Linked DNA regions of Homo sapiens: region 1 is linked to region 2. Evidence: promoter capture Hi-C in 16 types of primary human blood cells and fetal thymus (Javierre and others, 2016). All regions are on one chromosome and are shown on one strand. Each heading gives the region's core, a stretch centred on a gene start or on the middle of the fragment in contact. The rest is flanking DNA. Distances are from core to core; before and after follow the strand shown. Region 1 overlaps MBTPS1 (membrane bound transcription factor peptidase, site 1). Region 2 holds the start of MLYCD (malonyl-CoA decarboxylase).

What was found. Contacts are between HindIII fragments. The CHiCAGO score rates a contact against its expected background, and 5 or more counts as called.
Region 1: a contact is called between a fragment that was not itself captured here and the fragment with the promoter of MLYCD in region 2, in 1 of 17 cell types (neutrophils). The highest score is 5.7, in neutrophils.

The regions. Positions count from the first base shown.
Region 1 is chr16:84,092,218-84,100,020 of GRCh38, reverse strand. It overlaps MBTPS1 (membrane bound transcription factor peptidase, site 1), which reads left to right. Exons shown (of 23, transcript NM_003791.4): 3 at 711-968; 4 at 4,216-4,419; 5 at 6,200-6,310; 6 at 6,724-6,833. Among named protein-coding and RNA genes, the nearest start is that of MBTPS1, 21 kb to the left of the region's middle. RefSeq lists an enhancer at 7,273-7,803. The HindIII fragment of the contact is 4,965 bases long and covers 2,715-7,679 here.
Region 2 is chr16:83,895,482-83,903,277 of GRCh38, reverse strand. MLYCD (malonyl-CoA decarboxylase) reads right to left here and starts at 4,163. Exons shown (of 5, transcript NM_012213.3): 1 at 3,606-4,163. The coding sequence starts at 4,133. RefSeq lists silencers at 3,494-3,663, 3,964-4,393. The HindIII fragment of the contact is 8,175 bases long and covers 1-5,527 here.

The DNA.
Region 1 (7,803 bases), core at 3,948-6,447, 200 kb before region 2:
AGCAAATAGTCTCACATAATCCACTCTGGAATTTTGTTACTGTTTTCGTTTTAAGAAACACTAACTGAGCATTCAGTTCTCTGAATTTCTTTTTCCTACTTGATAAAAATTATATACATTTCTTTGTTGTGTATTCAAACTTCTGTAGGTATTTGCTTTTTAAAAAAATATCACGGGTATCTGGTTTCGAATGATGTATTCTTTGTGGTTAGGTGATTCATAGAGATCTTTTTTTTTTTTTTTTTGAGACGGAGGCTTGCTCTGTCACCAGGCAGGAGTGCAGTGGTGCAATCTCTGCTTACTGCAATCTCCGCCTCCCAGGTTCAAGTGATTCTCCTGCCTTAGCCTCCCAGGATTATAGGCGCCCACCACCACACCCAGCTAATTTTTTGTATTTTTAGTAGAGATGGGGTTTCACTATGTTGGCCAGGCTGGTCTCAAACTCCTCACCTCGTAATCTGCCCACGTCAGCCTCCCAAAGTGCTGGGATTACAGGCGTGAGCCACCGCGCCCAGCCCCATATAGATCATTTTTCCTCAAAGCTCTGCAGACAGCTGTCTAGGTACTTAAACTAGTCTTTGTGTTTTCTCTCGTCTGCTGTGGGCTTTAAGATAATTTTTCTTTTGCCAGATTTTAGATTAGATACAATATAGTATATGTTATAATGTATGTGCGTAAATCTTATTTTTGTTTGTGGTGATTGGTTTCAGAATATATTGTGGCTTTCAATGGATACTTTACAGCCAAAGCTAGAAATTCATTTATTTCAAGTGCCCTGAAGAGCAGTGAAGTAGACAATTGGAGAATTATACCTCGAAACAATCCATCCAGTGACTACCCTAGTGATTTTGAGGTGATTCAGATAAAAGAAAAACAGAAAGCGGGGCTGCTAACACTTGAAGATCATCCAAACATCAAACGGGTCACGCCCCAACGAAAAGTCTTTCGTTCCCTCAAGTATGCTGAATGTGAGTATTGTGACTGTAGGCAAATTTCTCTCTGCTGTTTACTTTGAAAATCTCAAACTGCAGAGTAGTTGAAAAATAGTACAGTGAGTATCCGCATCCTTCCATCTAGTTTGCTAATTGTGAACATTTTCCTGGTAGGAATTTTTTAGTTTAGTTTTGTTTAGTGCGCAGGGTCGGTGTTGGGGGGGCAGAATTATTTTTTAAAAAGAGACTTCGTACTGTTCTGGTAGAAGAAAATCTGAGGGTTTGCAGTAGTAGATGGTAGTGATCTTTGTTTCTGTTGGAAGCGATTTTCGCCAGCTTCATCTCAAAGCCTTCAGACTTCAAGGCTGCGGCCGCCTTCTCGTGCTGAAAGACGCGTCCTTGTGTCTGCTTCTTCCTTGCATTTCGCTTCTCTCAGTGTGTGTTTTATTTTTTCTTTTCCTTTTTATTTATTTATTTTTTTGAGACGGAGTTTCGCTCTTGTTGCCCAGGCTGGAGTGCAGTGGCGCGATCTTGGCTCACCTCAACCTCCACCCAGGTTCAAGTGATTCTCCTGCCTTAGCCTCCCAAGTAGCTGGGATTACAGGCATGCGCCACCATGCCTGGCTAATTTTGTATTTTTAGTAGAGACAGGGTTTCTCCATATTGGTCAGGCTGGTCTTGAACTCCTGACCTCAGGTGATCTGCCTGCCTCAGCCTCCCAAAGTGCTGGGATTACAGGCGTGAGTCACTGCACCCAGCCCGATTTTTAAAGGCACTCTTGCAAAACATGTTTTCCTGGGGTTTCGTTTTGTTTTTGTCAAAGCCTCCTGACCAGGAATGGTCATGCATCAGCTGGGTTCGTTGAAGTCATCAGCTGTGCAGGTGTGAGCATGGAAGCAACTTGGCTTTTCCTTTTCTTCTCCAGGGCTTAGTCTTTCCTACTTCATTACAATTGGGCTTGTCAAAATAGAGTTTAGTCTCAAATAGTAAATTGCATATTTATTAAATGATATTTTCCAAAGATATGTGTTACCAAAGGAAAAGGGTTTTTTTTCCCTGTTTATCTTAAATCAGGTTAACAAATTTCTAGTTCTGTTATTATTTACGATCATTTCTTTCATCAGAAGGAAGAAGAAATTAAAATTTTACTCTTCTTTGTCTATCATATTTTAGGCCTAAGAGCCTCTGAGGTTTTGCTGCATTAAACACACACACAAACACACACACACACACACACACACACACACACACGAAGAGAAGTTTAATTTTCATAGTAAAACCAGGTGTAAACTTAAGGCGTCTGACTTTTTCAGAGCCTTTTCTGCTACTCCAGATGTTATGTATTATTCTCCTTAAAAAGCAGTAACACTTCAAAATAATCCAGGAAGATAAAAGCCAATCAAACCTGATACAGTTAGCCAAATGTATACATTGCGGTATTTTAGTTGACTTTATTTTTTACTTCAGTTATCTTAAAGAGCTCTAGAATGCTTTAGGAGACACGGAGTTGCCTAATTTTAGCACAAGAATCCTAGACTCTCTGGAGATGGGATTCCCATGGACACCATCTCCACTGCGTGTGTTCCGGGTGCCTGACACCCCTGTGAGGGGAGACTTGCCCACTGCGTTCCCATGCCCCTTGAAGTTAGCTGTGACCTTCAGCAGTAAGCGTCTTTTCCATCTTGAAGCCTCAGTTTTTCTCATTCATAAAATGGAGATGATACTCCCTACCTCGTGGGGCTGTCATGAAGATAACATGAAATAATGCATATGAAGAAAGCTTAGTAGAGTGTTCAAGATGTTGTAAGTAACCAAATGTTAACAGTTTCTCTGGCTGTTACTCGTAGAAGGTTTTGCTTTATTTTGGGCTGACACCATTCTCACTCTGCATCCCACCCATTTGGTTCTATCCCATGGGCCATAAGACAAAGCCTATCTGTTTTCTGCGTGACAGTAGTTAAAGATGTGGTGAAGATAGCTGTCTTTTTGATATTTGAAGATACCCATGGTGTGTCCCTTTTGGCAATTTTTTCTCTCCAGGCTAATCCTCAGTTCTTGCCATAGTTACTCAGGTGACTTGATTTCAAGTCCCCTCATCATTTTAAGTGTTTTCCTTTGAATGTACTAATTTTTCTAAATTGTTTGAAAGCTGTGAAGCCCTGAACTGAGTATAATACTGGAGGTGGAGTCTGGCCTGTGCAGGGTCAAGCAGAGCAGGCCCATTCCTGGTCTCAGTGTTGCTCTTCAGTCAGCACCTGCAGCATTGTCCCATGCTGTTGACTTAAAGATCAGACTCAGCAGAGGAATTTCAATTAAGAACCGTTTCAGTTGGACTGTGCAAATATTTACTTACCAGAATTGACGTGACTGTATGTGTTTCCAGGTCCCTGTACTTAACATGGGTGTAGGTTGGTAAGGCTAGAATAAAAATGACAGTGATTTGCTTTAGAAAGAGAACTGTATTGGTATTACAGATTTTCTCTTCTTAAAACTGATTTGAAATATGACTTGTTCATTATAACATGGTCTTTGAAAGGTTAAGGGAAAACCCTTAGGCCATTTCTGTGGTACTGCCTTTTTCCTCCGCTTTTTAAAAATAAAGAGACTTACAGATAGTAAAATTCGTCCTTTTTAGAGTATAGTTTGGCAAGTTTTGGCAAAAGTATACCATCAAATATCCACCAACAAAATCAAGATATGGAATAATTCCATCACCCTCAGAAATTCCCTGTCTCTCACTCCTGTGTAGTCCTTTTGTTTTTGAAAGGTGAAATTCTAGCAGATAAGAATATTGAGAATATTGAGCAATATACAGTTGTTTTAAGTCCTGTTGATATTTGATGGCTTTTGCCTGCCCAAGAAATCTAGTGAAACTTATAGTAAAAATAAAACTCAATGAATGCTTAGGGTCATTTTCTTTAACTTTTCCCCCTTCTGGTTCAGTGAGAACAAGTTGCTGATGAAAATCAGGTTTTTCTTTATTTTTATTATCACAATTAGCTTTTTAAAATTATTATTATTTAATTTAATCAGTCTTTCTTTGCCTTACCTTGGTTAGAAAATTTCAAGTAGAGAACTATTTGGGAGTAATATGACAGCTAAATAACGTCCTATAATTATAATTGCATTGAGACTGTCCTTCCAGAAAAAGAAGATAATCCCACTTTCCTTCAAACAGAGTGGCAAATGGTAATCCTCCCTGTGTTTAGGATAGTTTTGCCTGGCGGGTATCGTGTAGTTCGTTTTGCTCTTCTGTTCTGATCTTTCTCTCCCTTGCCTGTAGCTGACCCCACAGTACCCTGCAATGAAACCCGGTGGAGCCAGAAGTGGCAATCATCACGTCCCCTGCGAAGAGCCAGCCTCTCCCTGGGCTCTGGCTTCTGGCATGCTACGGGAAGGCATTCGAGCAGACGGCTGCTGAGAGCCATCCCGCGCCAGGTTGCCCAGACACTGCAGGCAGATGTGCTCTGGCAGATGGGATATACAGGTGTGTGCTATTACCCAGGGAAGGTGCTTATGGGATATACAGGTGTGTGCTATTACCCAGGGAAGGCGCGGAAAGTCCAGACATGCAGGAATTCCATGTTCGGGACTGCCTAGTGCTAAAGCCCTGCAGCCTTCCACATCTAACCTTCTTACTATTTGTTTAGCTGGAGGTAGCCAAGTACTCCTCATCTTTGACTCCTGTGATGCCAGGCATCTGTTTCTGTGGCTTTCCTAATTGTCACCATTTGTGTCTTATTTTTGTTACCATTTCTGAGGTTAGAAGGGAAGGCTGTGGAGCACTTCTCTCCTATTGACACATACACAAACGAGCACAGCGCTGCCGGCCACTGGCGCTGACCGACAGGCCTGCAGAAGTCTGTCACTTCTTGGGGAAAGATGGTCCCTGATCTGGGCAATTCCACGGAAATTAGTTTATCACTTGAGTTTGGTGTCCTGAATGCAGAGTGACTAAGTAATTGACTATCACACCTGCTGATGATTTGTTTCAGAACAGGAAGCAGTGTTAATGATCATGTCCTGTGAAATAAAATTCAGAACAATAAGGATTTTTCCCTTGCTGATTCATCATGACCAAACCTTCATGTTTTATCTAATGTGAAGATTTTTACCTTGACTTCTAAATGTAAGCCAGTTTCACCTGCTCCCAGGACAGCGCAGTTTGCCTCGGTGTCTTTCGTATATCCTTGACTTAGGGACCCTTACCTCTCCTTTGATCTCCTTGGCGCCCTGCCCTCCAAAATATCTGAGATACTTCAACTTTTAATACCCGGTGGACTGGCATTTCATTAAAATGTGTGTCTCCCCATGGTTTTACCTTTTTATGAGAACTCCTTGACAAAACAAATTTTCTAGTCATGAGAAATAATTTTTTATTCCCCCCAAACCAAATGATTTCTGATTTTGTGTGTGCATTTTTTAAAAGTAGCATTGATTTTTATATTTATCTCAGTTTAATAGATTATTTAACATAGTATTGATATGTACACAGCCCTTTTGCCAGAAAGACATTACCCTCTTTACATTGGTTAGCTGTTAAGTCATATAGGTATTCTGTATTTTTTTTCTAGATGCTTTCTAGAATTTTTGGTCAGACAGGCCAGTTGTATTTCACATTGGTGTTGATGGCTTTGGCCAGTATCTGGAATAGACTTACTATTATAGAAAAGTGCACACTGCAGTGATTTTTCTTAGGTGTGATTAGCCGCATGTGGTGTTAATTGTTCCTTGCGGCAGAGTTTGCTGTATTATAAATGAGCAGCATTGAATAAATTGCTGTCCTTATTGGGAATAGGAATGGTTCCCCCTTTTCCCATTTTTGTGTCCCGCTCCTTGGGTGTGTGGTTTGTGAGTGTTTTGCAGGGCCTCCGAGAAGGTGGGGGGTGGAGACCTGTGATAAATTGCCAGAAGGGGAGTATCAGTAGGTGCCAGCCTGGAGCCTTGAGAAGCCCGCTAGGAGTGGAAGGGGTGGTTCTATCCTGAGTGCTGGTGGCAATTGAGGAGGGTCTAGAAGGATTTTCTGCTTATCCTTAAATCTTATTTGGCGGCAGATGATGGCATTGCTCCTGCTGTCCTCTTTTCTTAGCCTTGGCTCAGCCAGCTGACCCTGGGAGCAGCTGACCTAACTTATTTGCTCTGAGCAGCTTTGGCCTTCCACAATATGTCATTTTCTGTGGGTCCCAGGAAGGAATGTATTTTATAGGCAAAATCCAAAATGATGATTTCTTCAAACATAATTGTGTTTGCTTTCTTTTCCGAATAAGGTGCTAATGTAAGAGTTGCTGTTTTTGACACTGGGCTGAGCGAGAAGCATCCCCACTTCAAAAATGTGAAGGAGAGAACCAACTGGACCAACGAGCGAACGCTGGACGATGGTGGGTCTCAGCAGCAGTGAGAACGTGGTCATGTGATCGACTGAGAGTGTGTTTAGTGCATGATTCCACAGTCTGTCCAGCAATTATTCAGACAAGCCCAAGGTGTTATTGTGCTTTTTGTTGTGGCAGAAACTGCTCTGAATACCTCATAGGATGTCGGGAGGTAGCACTTCAGGAGAGAGTGGGCATGCCTGGTGTGGGGGCAGCTCCCTGTCCCGGAGAGCGTGGAGTGGCTAGACCTGGAAGGGGTGCTTGTGCCAGTGACGTCTAAGGGGATCGTAGAGCAGCAGCAGAGGCCCTCCTCTATCCAGCACTTGGAAATGGAAGGCCGTGGAACTCATGGCCTGGAATGTTGCGTCCTGGCACTTGCTATTCAGTGTGTTTTATGGGATTGTTTTCTTTATGGACTGCAGGGTTGGGCCATGGCACATTCGTGGCAGGTGTGATAGCCAGCATGAGGGAGTGCCAAGGATTTGCTCCAGATGCAGAACTTCACATTTTCAGGGTCTTTACCAATAATCAGGTAGGTGTTTTGAGGACTCCTGAAACTTGAGGAATTCATACTGAAATGTAAAAAGCAGAATCACTGGACTGTACACACTTGTGTAAAAGGAGTGCACGTCAGTGACGCTGAGCCATTCATACTGCAGCACGCATGCTCAGTTTACTGTTCCTCTGCCTCCTGGGTGGCTCCGCCCTTCTCCCACCAACCACTGTGTCGACCTAAGTTGAACCCTGAAGACCCTGCCGAGGCTACTACTTACGACGATTCTTTGATTTCCCTTGTTTCTTCTCTACCTCCAGGCTTCCCCAGGCCTCTGTACCCTGGGTCGGTTGTCTGCATGATAGAACAGAACAATTGCAGATAGAATAAGTGTGCTTGCCTCCCTGATTGGGTTCCTACCACCTTGAGCTGTTTTATTTACCTCTGTGTCCCGACACCTGGCATTGTGTTGGGTAATGGGAGTTTACAAGCCTTGTTCCTTCACTCTTCATTTGGAAACTATAGAAAAGGGAGAGGGTCCTAGTATTTGTTTCTTTTTTCGTTATTTATTTTTTAAGGTTAATTTTTGAATAGGTAATGCATAGCTCAGAAATGTCAGAAGGTAACACAGTGAGACCCCCACCCCTGTCCCCGTCCAGCAGGTTCTTTCCTCACTGGCCCGTGTGTCCTGTGTGATGATGTTCCTTTCTTATACCTCCTCGTAGAATTTCTTTGGTGTATATGAGAAAATATAAGTACCTGGTCTTTTAAAAACCTTTAAAAACATAATCTTAATCATTACATTGCTTCTCTTCCTACCATAAACTTAATTTTATATTTTTTAAAAAAGCAACAGCTAAAGGTGATCCACAAAGTAATGAAGCTTTTGTAAGGAACATAGGAGCACTTGAACATCAGAAGACTAATACTGTGAAATAACTGTTACTGCTGCCATTTGTCCTTCAGTCTGTTTAGGAATGAAGAAGGTTAGATAGATAAGTTGAACTAT
Region 2 (7,796 bases), core at 2,914-5,413:
GCAGGTGTCTAGCATGGCCGGGTGGCTGTGGCAGTGGGAACCAGGTCCCTTCTCTAGTTTCTGTGCCTCTGTTAAGGTTGGAGCACCTCTCATTCCACCCTAACAGCAAGGTCCAAACTGCCCATGAGGAACCCTTTCCATGAATTAAAGGCCAACCTTCCTCGAGTGCCCACAAATCACTGAACCTCGCTCAGACCTTCCCCTCTACTGGGGATTCGACTCGGTTTCACTGGGATTTCACCTCTAAGAAACTGAAGTCATCAACCAACTGGGCCTCTGGAGAAAAACAAAAAGCCTATAAACCACCATCCCCCAGACACATCACATCCTCATACCCACACCTACCATGCAACCACAGGGACACACATACCTCCAAACTCCTCTACATTCAGGAGGCCACAAATCCAGGCAGTAACAAGCCTCCAAACTCACTCAGATCAGAGGAAAAGAACATTTTAAAAAGTAAGAACACAGCCAGGCACAGTGGTTCACACCTGTAATTCCAGCACTTTGGAAGGCCAAGGCGGGCGGATCATCTGAGGTCAGGAGTTCCAGACCAGCCTGGCCAACATAGCAAAACCCCATCTCTCCTAAAAATACAAAAATTAGCCAGATGTGTTGGCAAGCACCTGTATTCCCAGCTACTCAGGAGGCTGAGGTGGGAGAATGGCTTGAACCTGGGAGGCGAAGGTTGCAATGAGCAGAGATTGTGCTGCTGCACTCCAGCCTGGGCAACAGAGCAAGACTCTGTCTCAAAAAAAAAAAAAAAAAAATCAGATTAAAAAAATAGATCAGATCATACCACATTAAGTGATTCTGGTGAGAGGTTACAATATCAGATCCCAGTTGATAGTTTATAGGTACAGAACAATCTAATTCTATTCTAAGACTGATTTAAGCGACAGGGATTTTAAAAAAATTACATCTGGGCTCACACCTATCTATAATCCCAGCACTTGGGATTGGAGGATTGCTTGCTTGAGGCCAGGAGTTCAAGACCAGCCTGGGAAACGTAACAAGAAAAAACATAAACATGAACAAAAAAATAAACACAAACAAAAAACCGTAAACAACAAAACAAAAAACCATATATATATATATATATATATATATATATATATACGCACGCACACACACACACACACATATACACATACATATATATGTGTATATATGAGAAAACAACTACGTAGAACAAGGGAAGGGGAAGGGAATTAATAGGTTCAGCTACTAACAGTTACATGCACTGAATATAAGGCTGGGGTTTCTAGGTAAAGAAATGGAAGGGGCACAATAAAGCAATCACAGAAAGGCTCCTGAAGCCATTATGTCCAAACCATATGCAGAGGCAAAGATCAGACTGTCGTTATTCATTCTGTTTGATAAACACCTCTGGTCCACAGGACTTTTGGCCTAGCATTACAGTATGCAATGTTTTTTTCCCTTCTGTAAATAGCCTTGGTCAAAAAGCAAGGAAACTTGTGAATGTCTAAGGACTCAGCAGCCTCTGTATTTCCCAGGGGCCAGCTCCTTTCTCTCAACAGTCAAGTCTGGATGTGAGTGTCTTCAGTTGCCATGCAACGTGTTCCTTCCCAATGACGCGATAACCAAGAGTTTTCTTGAGTGGGGAAGAACAAAAGGATGTATTCCACAGCATCTCACAGAACCAGAGAATTCAGAATTGGACCGGATGTGAGAAATCAATGAGGGACAAAGCTGTCCAAATGTCTGATATGAGGACCCTCTCAGCTGGGCAGAAACCTTTCAAGTCCTTCATGGCTTTCTCTCAGGCTCAAAAATCTATGACTGAGTGTGGGGCAGACTCACCTCCACACAAATGCTGAATGATTAGTGTGTCAAGTGTGTCTTATGCCAGGACACCCAGGAATCTATTGCAATGATTCATTCATCATTCTGCTATGCAAGAAATTTAAAGACAAGTTTCCCAGTTTTCGAGGAGCTGATCATTTACATGGGGGGATGATATACTGCAAGTACTATGTCCAAGTGTGGATCAGAAAAACTCAGCTATTCAGACTAGGCTTGAGCCCAGAACATGATAATTCAACACAGTAAGAATTCATGACTGATTCTGTGTCATGCAATTAGCAACTGTGGGCTTTCTGTCTGAGAATCTTACGGCCAAAGATGCCTGGCCCTCAGTAACACTTAGCGCTGTAAATTAACCAGCTATCACGGGGAATCAAATCATGGCCACTGTTGTCACTCTTGACATTAATCCCATACTTAATTATGCCCAATTTTATGCATCTAAGTAGCCAAAAAAGAAAGTTTCTAATAAACATCTGATTAACGGTAAGACAGTGATATAAAGCGTAGTGCAAATAACCCTGGATTAGGGTGGGTGATCAGCAAGAGCTTTTCGCTCTGAATTTCAGGACAAGTAACACAACCTCAGCATGTTCTCCTTTACTGTAAAAGGGATACGTGTTATCACCCACGTAAGACTGAAGGAATGTAAACTATTAAACCAGTATTAGAGTTCTTAAATGGGTCAAGTCATAATCATTCAAGTGTTCAATTTTTTTTTAACACCAACTGCACATAACAAACTTCTGAATGTCCAAAACTTCCTGAAACATTTACGTCATTTTTCGTTCATTAAAAGGGCAGGTTAAGCCTGGGCCACATGGTGAAACGCCCTCTCTACAAAAAAAAAAAAAAAAAAAAAAAATTAGCCGGGCATGGTGGCCTGCACCTGTAGTCCCAGCTACTCAGGAGGCTGAGGTGGGAAGATTGCTTGAGCCTGGGGAAGTCGAGGCTGCAGTGAGCCGTGATAACACCACTGTACTCCAGTCTGGGCAACAAAAATAAAAATAAAAAAAGGGCAGGTTAGTTTTTCGCCGTATTTAATACTAACAGTATAAAAGAAGAGTATATGTTGCTCTAGGCCTTCTTTCGGGTCATAATCATTTAAATCTCAAAGTATGTGTCTGCATTTAACATGAATGAACTGTGCTAATGCCTGATTACCTCAAGTCAACTCAGAATCATCACATTAAGTACTGAACGCAGGGAGTTAAATGCCCTCCCAAAAGTCATGGAGCACAGACAAGGCCAGAAGCCATGGAGACTCCTGGGTGGTGGTGGTGACCTTGAGTCCTATTTACCTTTGTGCATTTCACAGGACTTCTCAGGACAATGTCTCACACATAGCGGGTGCCCAGTGAACTTCTGAAACACCATCCAGGGTCTCAGAAGGCTGCCTGATGCTCTAGTTCAGGTATACCATATAGATGAAACACTTCTCAGCTACAATAATTTCAAAAGACTGTAGAGCACACACTAATCAGGTACGAGAGGTGACAGCTACCTTAAAGACCACCAAGTGCTGAGTATTTAGTAAACACTATACAAGTGAGGACTTCAAGGACAGACTGGAGGAAGGCGGGGGTGTGCTCTGACGAGGCCAGGACTCAGACAGCGTGGGAAGGGGACACAGTTGGCAGGCGGTAACTGCGGGCGAAGTGAGCGTGCTATCGGGCAGGGAAGGCGGGGTGTGTGGGACTTGGAGGGGGCAAGTGAGGACTACTCGAGGAGGGCGGCCAGTCCGCGCTGCCGGGGGATCGACGGCGGCCCCTTACCCGGACGTCCGGCCCCTCCACCAGCTTGAGGGCCTGCGCCTCCAGCAGGTCGGCCCGCAGCTGCACCAGGAAGCGCACGCCGCCGTCCAGCTTGCTGATGTGGTGGAAGAGGCCGCGATAGCGCGGCACCAGCGCGTAGCGCAGCCGGTCCTCGGCCTGCAGCAGCACCGCCGCCTCCCGCTGCTGCTGGCGCAGATGGAGCACGCCGGCGCTCTGCTCCGCCACCTGGCCGTGGTCCACGCCGAAGCCCCGCGCCAGGCGGCCCAGCAGTTCGGCCCGCTGGGCCGTCTCGGCCAGCCCACCGTAGAAGCTCACGAAGTCCGCGCACTGACCCTCGGCGGGCGCCGGTGTCTTCTCGCGCAGCTCGTAGGCCGGCGTCGGCGGCACCGCGCGGCGCAGCAGCTCGTCCATGGCCCGCTCCAGGGCGCCGGCCGCCTGCCCGCTCGCCAGCCGGGGCCCGGGCGGCCGCGGGGGCAACCGCAGCGGGAGGAGACGCCTGGCCGTCAAGCCTGGCCCGAAGCCTCGCATGGTGCCCCACAACAGCTGCCGAGGGGGAGCGCCGCCGCCGCTGCCGCGCTTCCGGCTTCCGGCGCGCGCCGGCCCCATTGGCCGAGGCCGCGAGCCCGGCTGGGGACGCGGCCAATAGGAGGGCGGGGCGGTGGGGGCGAGGCGGCGGGGGCGGAGCGGCTCTGGCGGCGGCCGGAGGCCAAGTGTGGCTAAAGGTTACTGCCCCGCGGCTGGGCTGCCTCGGGGCCTGCTCCCGCGCGGCTGGCGGCTTGTACTCCGGTCCTAACACCTGACCGCCTAAAGGCACCGGCCCAGCCCCTCCTCTCTTTCCCGACTGCACTGCACAAGTGCCGCCTCCTCTCTAGATCCGAGCGCCTCCAGCCTCCCGGTGCATCAGAGTCACCTGGGAACTCCTGCACCGGAGGATTCCTGGGCTCCGAAATCAGAATCCTAGAGATTCAGATTCAGTGTGTCTGGGAGGAGCCAAGGAATATGCTTGCTTAAGAGGTGTTTGTGGCAATCCTCTGGCATGGTAGGTAGCCTTTGTTTGACCCCTGCCTAGGCACTCACCATTCGCGTCAGTGTCTTACACACATGACGCTCAGAGCCACAGAGGTTGGAGGGGTGTGTGAGTGTGTGTGGAGAGAGAGAGAATATGTCTATATGTATGGATGTATGTACACATACGCACGCATATACACATACATATGTATGTAAAAGAGACATGGAGACAGAGAGACTGATGGAAAGCCATACCCTTGAGCAAATGCCAGAATGAGACAAAGAGTTTTCTTTGAAATAGTTTTCAGATAATTGCAGTTATCAAGGCATATTTATTTTGTCCTCTAGAAAGATAGGCCTGAACTCTAGTTCCCCCTCCTTCCCCAATCCATTACAATCTGTAGAAGAGAATGTCACATACCAGCCATGTCTCCCACATGCAAAATTGCAGGAGGCATTAGGAACACAGTGGGATTTTGTTCCACTCTGATGGAAATATGGCATCTTTGGTTGGAGGGTGAGGGAGCCATGTACTTGGTTGACTATGTCTAGGTGCTAGGATTTCTATAGGTAGAACCCTTTGGTGCAGGTCTTGCAGTATAAAAGACACCTGGAGGTAGTTCTGTATGAGGACAGCCTTTGCTGGGTGTGTCTCATCTTATGGGGCACGAAGAAAGTACGTTTGGCTCATTCTGCCAAGACACAGACACACAAAACATTCTGAAAGCCTAGTGGTGGCTTTTGAGGACACCTCTCCATTCCTCTTTTCTAAGAAGTGGTGAAACCATATTGCCAGCTGGCTAAGGGAGTTGGTGGGGTCCAAACTCTGGTGTTTGTCTCTTTGCCTTGTCGAGTGAGCTTTTGTCTGTCCTAGGATACTCCTGCCTTGCTTTAGGAATCTTGTCTTGAAAGCTTGACTTTGCTTAAGCATTTGCTAAGTGTAGTACTCCCACAACCCTGTTCTTTCTCATCTTTCCCGGTGCCTTCCTTTTTATGTAATTTCTGGCTTCTGTTTTTTTTTTCTCTGTGTTTATACTTTTTTCTCTAGGCGTCAACAGCCATCCTCTGCTTTTTCCCACTCATGTCCTTATTTCAAAAGACTGCCCCAATCCAAAAATGAAATTAAAGAAACAATTCTATTTACAACAACATCTGAAGGGATAAAAGAAACATGTTTAACCAAGGAAGTGTGAGACTGGTAGATGGAAAACCACAGAACAGTATTGAAGGAAATTAAAGAAGACCTAAACAAATGGAATGGTCCATGCATGGTTCATGGATTGGAAGATGTAATATTGTTAATATAGCTCATATGGTTTGGATCTGTGTCCAACCAAATCTCATGTCTAGTTGTAATCCTCAGTGTTGGAGGTGGCGCCTGGTAAGAAATGATTGGATCATAGGGGCAGAGTTCTCATAAATGGGTTAGCACCATCCCCGCTTGGTACCCTACAGTGAGTTCTCAGGAGATCCGGTTGTTTAGAAGTGTGCATCACCACCCCCTCTCTCCTGCTCTGGCTATGTGAAGCTCCTCACTCCCCCTTTGCCTTCCGCCATGAATGGAAGCCTCCTGAGGCCTCTCCAGAAGCAGAAGCCACTACGTCTTCTGTACAGCTTGTGGAACCATAATCCGATTAAACCTCTTTTCTTTATGAATTACCCAGTCTCGTGTATTTCTTTATAGCAGCGTGAGAATAGACTAATACAATGGCAATACTCCCAAAATTAACCTACAGATCTAATACAATCCCTATTAAAATTTCACTGCCCTTTTTTTTTTTGCAGAAATAGAAAAACATATTCTAATATTTATATAGAAATGCTAGGGGCCCTGAGTGGCCAAAACAATCTTTAAAAAGAACAAACTTACTACAAAGCCACAGTAATCAAAATAATGTGGTATTGGCAGAAAGATAAAACACAAAAATCAATAGAATAAAATTGAACATTCAGAAATAAACCCATCTATGGTCAATTGATTTTTTTTTTTTTTTTTGAGACAGAGTCTCACTCTGTCACTCAGGCTGGAGTGCAGTGGCATGGTCTCGGCTCACTGCAACCTCTGCCTCCCAGGTTCAAGTAATTCTCCTGCCTCAGCCTCCTGAGTAGCTGGGACTACAGGTGTGTGCCACCACACCCAGCTAATTTTTGTATTTTTAGTAGAGACAGGGTTTCACTAAGTTGGCGAGGCTGGTCTCGAACTCCTGACCTCGTGATCCGCCCACCTTGGCCTCCCAAAGTGCTGGGATTACAGGCGTGAGCCACCGTGACCAGCCTGGTCAATTCATTTTTGACAAGGGTTCTAAGACCATTCAGTGGGTAAAAGTGAGTCTTTTCAACAAATGGGACGGGGACAACTAGACATCTACAAGCAAAACAACAAACATGGACCCCTACCTACCTCACAGCCAATAGAAGAATTAACCCAAAATGGATCCAAGACCTAAATGTAAGAGCTAAGACTATAAAATCCTTAGAAGGGAAAATAGGTGTAAATCTTCAGGACTTTGGAATAGCAATTATTTCTTAAATATGACGTCACAAGTGCAAACAACAAAAGAATAATAGATAACTTGGACCTCATCAAAATGAGAAACTTTTATATATTGAAGGACACCATCAATAAAGTAAAAAGATGAGCCACAGAGTGGGAGAAATATTTGAAAATCATATATCTGATAAGGGTCTTTATGTGGATTATATAAAGAATTGTGGCCGGGCATGGTGGCTCACGCCTGTAATCCCAGCACTTTGGGAGGCCAAGGCAGGCGGATCACAAAGTCAGGAGATCGCGACCATCCTGGCTAACACGGTGAAACCCCGTCTCCACTAAAAATACAAAAAATTAGCCGGGGGTGGTGGCCGGCGCCTGTAGTCCCAGCTACTCAGGAGGCTGAGGAAGGAGAATTGCGTGAACCCGGGAGGGTGAGCTTGCAGTGAGCCAGATCGCGCCACTGCACTCCAGCCTGGGCAACAGAGCGAGACTCTGTTTAAAAAAAAAAAAAAAAAAAGAATTCCTACCACTAAACAATAAAAAGACAAACAACCTAATTAAAAATGGACAGAAGATTAGAATAGACATCTCTCCAAAAAATATATATATGTGTGTGTATATATATATATGTGTATGTATATATATATGTGTGTGTGTGTATATGTATGTATGTGTATGTGTAAATATAT